2 separate regions of the Homo sapiens genome follow, and region 1 is linked to region 2. The links are contacts of gene promoters, found by promoter capture Hi-C in human tissues and cell types (Jung and others, 2019). All regions are on one chromosome and are shown on one strand. Each heading gives the region's core, a stretch centred on a gene start or on the middle of the fragment in contact. The rest is flanking DNA. Distances are from core to core; before and after follow the strand shown.

What was found. Contacts are between HindIII fragments. The study calls those that stand out against the background at their distance.
Region 1: a contact is called between a fragment that was not itself captured here and the fragment with the promoter of ZBTB21 in region 2, in 1 of the 25 tissues and cell types used here (dorsolateral prefrontal cortex).

What each region holds. Positions count from the first base shown.
Region 1 is chr21:43,709,698-43,713,068 of GRCh38, forward strand. LOC124905031 (a long non-coding RNA gene) reads right to left here and starts at 2,578. Exons shown (of 2, transcript XR_007067895.1): 1 at 1,658-2,578; 2 at 1,019-1,341. RefSeq lists enhancers at 1,444-2,325, 2,391-3,012. The HindIII fragment of the contact is 7,963 bases long and covers 1-3,371 here.
Region 2 is chr21:42,009,110-42,012,330 of GRCh38, forward strand. ZBTB21 (zinc finger and BTB domain containing 21) reads right to left here and starts at 1,251. Exons shown (of 3, transcript NM_001098402.2): 1 at 1,143-1,251. ZNF295-AS1 (ZNF295 antisense RNA 1) reads left to right here and starts at 85. Exons shown (of 2, transcript NR_119384.1): 1 at 85-475. RefSeq lists silencers at 424-533, 574-883, 1,324-2,063. The HindIII fragment of the contact is 7,901 bases long and covers 1-3,221 here.

The sequences.
Region 1 (3,371 bases), core at 302-2,801, 1.7 Mb after region 2:
TCTAAGAAACCACCAAAGTGCCTTCCAAAGTGGCTACACCATTACAGTGTTCCCACCAGCAATGAAGGAGAGTGCCATGTCCCGCCAGCACCCAGTGTTGTCAGTGTTCTGGACTTCAGCCATTGTAAGCAGTGCTTAGCGATGTTTCATTGTTTGAATTTGTACTTTTCTCATGGCATGGCGTTCAGAACTTTCCATATGTGTATTTGCCATTTGTATATCTTCTTTGGTGAGGTGTCTAGATCTTTTGCCTATTTTTTGGTTAGGTTGTTCCCTTATTGTTGAGTTTTAAGAATTCTTTCGCCAGTTGTGGTGGCTCACACCCGTAATCTGAGCACTTTGGGAGGCCGAGGCAGGCAGATCACTTGAGCTCAGGAGTTTGAGACCAGCTTGGGCGACATGGTGAGACCTCTTCTCTACAAAATAAAAAAAGAGTACAAAAATTAGCCCGGCATGGTGACACACGCCTGTAGTACCCGCTACTCAGGAGGCTAAGGCGGGAGGATCACTTTAGCCCAGGGGACAGAGGTTGCAGTGAGCTGATGTGTGCTACTGTACTGCACTCCAGCCTGGGTGGTAGAGCAAGACCCTATTTAAAAAAAAAAAAAGGAAAAAAGGCTGGGCGCAGTGGCTCATGCCTGTAATCCCAGCACTTTGGGAGGCTGAGGCGGGCGGATTACTTGAGGTCAGGAGTTCGAGACCAGCCTGGCCAACATGATAAAACCCCATCTCTACTAAAAATACAAAAATTAGCCGGGTGTGGTGGCAGGCGCCTGTAATCCCAGCTACTCGGGAGGCCGAGGCAGGAGAATCACTTGAACCTGGGAAGTGGAGGTGTCAGTGGGCCAAGATCACGCCACTGCACTCCAGCCTGGGCAACAGCAAGACGAAAGAGAAAGAGAGAAAGGGAGAAACAGAGGAGAGAAAACAAAGGAAGGAAGGGAAAGAAAGAAAAGAGAGAAGGAAAGAAAGAGAGAGAGAAAGAAAGAGAGGAAAGAAAGAAAGAAATCCTTGTATATTTAGGACTCAAATCCTTTATTGATGTTTTGTACGATTTAAAGATTCCTTTGGTGGTGGGACGCAATACAGTGACACTCAGCTAGAGGAGAGGCAGAAGCCTGTGTATTGATGTTTTATAAGATCTAAAGATTCTTTTGGTGGTGGGACGCAATACAGTGACACTCAGCTAGAGGACAGGCAGAAGCCTGTGTGACTTACAGCTCTAACAAGAGGCCGCCGCCAGGCAGGGTCACACGGGGGATTGTGCCTCGGACGTCAGTGGACTGGACACAGCCCAGGAGAGAATCTGCAAGCTGAGGACATGTCCATAGACTTCCCCAACTGAAATGCAAGGAGAAAAAAGAGTAAAAATAACTGAACAGAATATCCTAGAACTACGGGACAATTATAGAAGGTAATTTACACACTCATAATGGCAATACCAGAAGAGGAGAGGGAGAAAGGGATAGAAGAAATATTTGAAGTAATAATGGCTTCTCATTTTTCAAAATTGGTGTCAGACACCAAACCACAGATCTAGGAAGCTTAGAGAACACTAAGTACAACAAATGCCAAAAAATAGGAACTTTGGCATGTCGTATTCAAACTGCAGGAAACCAGAGACAGAATATCTTGAAAGATGTCGGAGGGAAAGTACCTTCCTATAGAGGAACAAGAATACGGATCACACTGGACTTCCATCAAAAATCATGTGATCTGGGTACTGGAAGCTACATGTAAAGAAGAAATTCATGCTCACGCCTGTAATCCCAGCACTTTGGGAGGCCGAGGCGGGCGGATCACGAGGTCAGGAGATCGAGATCATCCTGGCTAACACGGTGAAACCCCATCTCTACTGAAAATACAAAAAAATTAGCCAGGCGTGGCAGTGGGTGCCTATAGTCTCAGCTACTCGGGAGGCTGAGGCAGGAGAATGGCGTGAACCCGGGAGGCGGAGCTTGCAGTGAGCCGAGATCGTACCACTGGCACTCCAGCCTGGGCGACAGAGACTCGGTCTCAAAAAACAAAACAAAACAAAAACCCAAAAGAAGAGGCACCTGAGCCGCTTGCTTGAGCCTGCTCCCACTCTGAAATGTCTTCAGTAAATCTGTGCTTTCCTTGCTTCTCCTGTTGCTTTCTCTTTCATGGCTTGGCTCTTTTGTTACTTTGTGCATTTTGTTAAAGCATCCCCCGCTAACTAAGACACCGCTCAGGGTCGGGCACAGTGGCTCACACCTATAATCCCAGCACTTTGAGAGGCCGAGGCAGGTGGGTCACCTGAGGTCGGGAGTTCAAGATCAGTCTGACCAACACGGAGACCCCATCTCTACCAAAAATACAAAAAAAAAATTAGCTGGGCGTGGTGGCACATGCCTATAATCCCGGCTACTCAGAAGGTTGAGGCAGGAGAATCACTTGAACCCGGGAGGCGAGGGTTGCGGTGAGCCGAGATCACGCCATTGCACTCCAGCCTCTGCCCAACAAGAGCGAAACTCCGTCTCAAAAAAAAAAAAAAAAAGAAAGAAAGAAAAAAAAAAGAGACACCGCTCAAACTTCTGGCCAAACACAAATCCTGAATGACTTTTAACATCCTTTATGGTAATTAAGGAACCCTGTGGTGCTGGGAGGCAGTTGCTCAAACAACCTCTGGGCATGGTCTGCTGGCAAGGGCATTTCATTTGCCGCCAGGGTGTGGACGGACATTTATTTACACAGTCATACCTGAGACAGAGTAGGGACGGGCTGGCTCGGTTAACCCCCCACTAGAGCATTCTCTCATGCCTTCCACGGATCACACACCCCACGCCACTACCTGGCTTGACACCAAACTCGCTAACCCTGAGACTTTGGTCATACAAGGAAAACAGCCGTTTATAGTGCTCTTCTGTGCTCTTGTAATATTTAACCAGGCCTTTTACTTAAAGAATTTCAGGAACTGGCCTTAAAAGATCCAGAATATCAACCAAGGTTGTAGAATGTCCCCACCTTGGAAAGGAATGCTGAGCAACAGATTTACAGCCTCGCTGCCCCAGCCAGCCAGCTAGCTGGCCCATGACTCAAAATAACCGTCGCAACCAGAAGTGCTGATCAGCCTGTCCCAGTCCTCGGAGGCCTTCCCCAGCCCAGCCTGCACACCCTACCCTGATATCAGTTTCCACCCTTTGCCTGACAAAAAGTCCTAACCAACTCCTTTCCAGGACTCAGTCAGGGACTCTCTCTCCCTTGGGCCGCCTCCCTTATGCCTGGACATAAGCTCCAATGAAGCCTTGTCTGGGAAAACTCTTTTGGCCCCATGTCAATTTCCATTGCATTGAGAGCCCAAGAACTCATGGTTGGTAACATATCCATTCCTGTGTCCAAATGGAAAGCCT
Region 2 (3,221 bases), core at 1-2,500:
CAGGGCTGTGAGCGCTTGCACGAAAGGAAAAACCCCAGGCCGTGTGAAGTCTAACTTTCCCCGTCCTCTCGGTCAGGCAATCCCACCGGGGCACCTGTCTAAAAACACCCCGCCTCCGAACGCGCGCTCTTGCGGAATTCTCCCGAACCGCAGAGCCCTCGTGGCTGGGACCGCATAGCAACCGGGGGCAGAGTGCGAGCCCCCAGCGGTGTGCTGGGATGGAAAAGCAGGAGCCGCTGAGGATGGACTACGGGGCGTGTTCCCGAAAAGCCGGGAAGAGATGTGGCGGGGCTGCCGCGGGCGTCTCTAAGGCCGGCACGGGTGGCGTCTTGACTCCCTGCCCCTCCAGCCGCGGACCTCGGACGGGGGGAAGGGGGCTCCTCCAAGCGGGGAGACGGTCGCCGGCCGAGCAGCAGGGCTCCTGGCCGGCGGAGGGTGCTATGCTCTGCGGGACCGCCGGGAAGTCCCAGACAAGGTCTGCGGGGGCTCTGGAGGAAAAAAAACGCGCTGTGAGGTCCAGGCGTCCGCGGGAGGGGCCGGGGGCGGGGAGGGAGCGTCCAGCGGGCACCGAGCGGTCACGCTCCGGCCACCGGGCCGAGGACGGGGCGGCGGGGCTAGGTCCCGGACCGTGAAGGGAGCGGCGGGTCGCGGCAGGTGCGGGGTCCCCAAGGCCGCCGGCCAGCTTCCGCGCACACCCCGCGGCCCGGGCCGCCGGCCCCCAACCCCTGCCCGGAACAGGAGAACGCGCCCTTCTCCACGAGGCGTTTCAACCGCTCCGCGCGAGGGGCGCGCGCCTGGGCCAGGCGTGTCCCCTACCCCAGGGGCAGCTCGGCCAGGGTGAAGAGTGAAGCCCGTGAGGGAATGGAGCATGCGCATTCGCGAGGGCGAGGCCAAGTGCTGGCAGGGAGCGTGCGCAGTGTGAAGGTACAATCGGCTACGTGGGAACCCGGGACATGCTCGGTGAGCGCCCAGGTCCCGCGCACGCGCAGAAGCGCTCGGAGCCCGCAACCCGCTGGTGGAGAAAAAAGAGGAGAGAAATCACCTCAGAGTTACGTCAGGAAAGGCCGCGTTTTGCGGGGAGGCTGTAGCCTCCCAAGGAGCCCCGCAGTTCTCCTAGAGCTAGGGGCGTGACAGTTACTCACCGGTCTTCAGTCTCGAGGCAGACGCCGGGCCCCTTTCCGCTCACACTCGGCTCGCGCGCGCCGCAGCCGCCGCTGCCGCTGTGATTCCATCCATCTTGAATTTGACGTCATCCCACACCAGGGATGAGGTCATCGCAGGCATCGCTCGTCACGTGCGCGGCACTCTGATTGGGCGCCGGGCGCCGGAGGGCGGGGCGGGGGGGGGGCCTCGCGGCGCAGGGGGACGGGGGAGGGCGGGCCTGCCCGGAGCCGCGCGCCGAACGGACGCTGCCGCGCTGCAAGCCCGCGCTCTCGGTCCATGAGGGGAGCCTGCGGCGGCCGTTAGGGGAGGCGGCCGGGCTGGGGGCCACGGCGAGGAGGCTGAGCGCCCCGGCCGGGTGGAGTCCGTCGCGGCGAGGAGCGCGCCGATTCTCAGGGGACTTTGCCGCCTGCCGGAGGCGCCCTTGCTGCGGGGTCGCCCCGGGTCATTCGGCCGCGGTCCTGCCCAGCTGGGCCGCCAGTAGTCCCCGCTTCCGGCGCGGCGGGATGCGTGGCGCGAGCGCTTAGTCCCTCGGAGGGGAGGACGCGCTCCCGTTCACCGGTGGACGGCGGGCGACTCCCCGAGCCGACGACCCCGACAGCGACGGGAGCGACGCGCGGCTTTCTGACGGGCGCGGGCGGCGAGCGGGGCCCTGCGGTCCTCGGGTCGGCGGCAGACGCTCCCGGCCCGCGAGGAAAGCCCGCGGGAGGCGGCTCCTGCCGCTCGCTAGTCGCTCAGAGCGCTTCCATTTCCTCCTCCCGACGCAACCTGGCCACCTGGCCCCTGGGCGGGGACCCGGCGGCCGCGGCCAGGGCGTCCGGGCTCGTTCGCCGCGCAGATGGGGGTCGGTCCTGACCCCCGCCGGGGCGTCCACAGCGGCCCGCAGGCAGCCGGAGACTTCGCATAGTGCCCGGCTCATCGGAGGGCTGTGATCTTTTTTTTTTTTGCAGAAATATTACAACTCCACTGATGAGAAAACTCACTTCGCTTTCAGTCAAAACCAGAAATTAGATAACAGAAATGCCACACTGTCAACACCGACCGGGAGGAAAGCCTCGCTGGCGGAGACCGCTCAAGGGAGCCCTCCGCGCGTTCTCCCAGCCCGGGTCGCAGGTGGAGGGGGAGTGCCTCCTGCAGGGACGGTTCTCCCGCAGACACTCAAACTCCGGGATGTAAAACCCCTGTTAATAATTGTCAGGGGTCTGTTAATTGCCAAATACAGTTTTTGAAAGTTGTATGCACTAGGTAAAATAATTTATGTAATGTTTGGAAGTATGTGAAAGACAGACATTAGATTGATACAAATTAAAAATTTGTTGCCAAATTAACAGCTCTGTTGTAGATTATTAGTTTGACTAATTTTAAGAGGACTCTTAGTCTTACATAAAGAATCTTGCACCTAAAAATTTTCTCCTACAACTTTAAAACACTTTAAATTTTTTTTTTTTTTTCCTGAGATGGAGTCTCTGTCAGTCCCAGGCTGGAGTGCAGTGGCATGATCTCAGCTCACTGCAGCCTCCACTCCCTGGCTCAAGCCATCCTCCCGTCTCAGCCTCGGCAGTAGCTGGGACTATAGGTGCATCCGTCACACCTAGCTGATTTTTGTATTTTTGGTAGAGATGGAGTTTCACCATGTTGCTCAGGCTGGTTTCAAACTCCTGGTCTGAAGCAATCCACCCGCCTCAGCCTCCCAATGTGCTTGGATAACAGGTGTGAGCCACCATGCCCAGCCTAAAGAGTGTCTGTATTTTGAACTGTATGGTGGAAAAGCACAAAGTGACTGTTCTGAAGGTAGAAGGCAACAGTGATTATAAGTCTTAAAAGAACCTTGAGTTTTAGGTTCCCCTGTGATTAGGCTGGGGGAGTGTGTGCTGTTATCCTAGTTTTATAGGTGAGAAAACTAGTACTGGCTTTACCGCATGCTGGAAGCAGCCTCCCTTGAGCGATCCCTTTCTAGCCACCTGCTTAGCTGTTTTTTTGTTTTGTTTTGTTTTTTGTTTTTTCAACCTTCCTCAGGACGATACACATTGGTGTCTCTGCTTTGAGCTATATGATCAGGC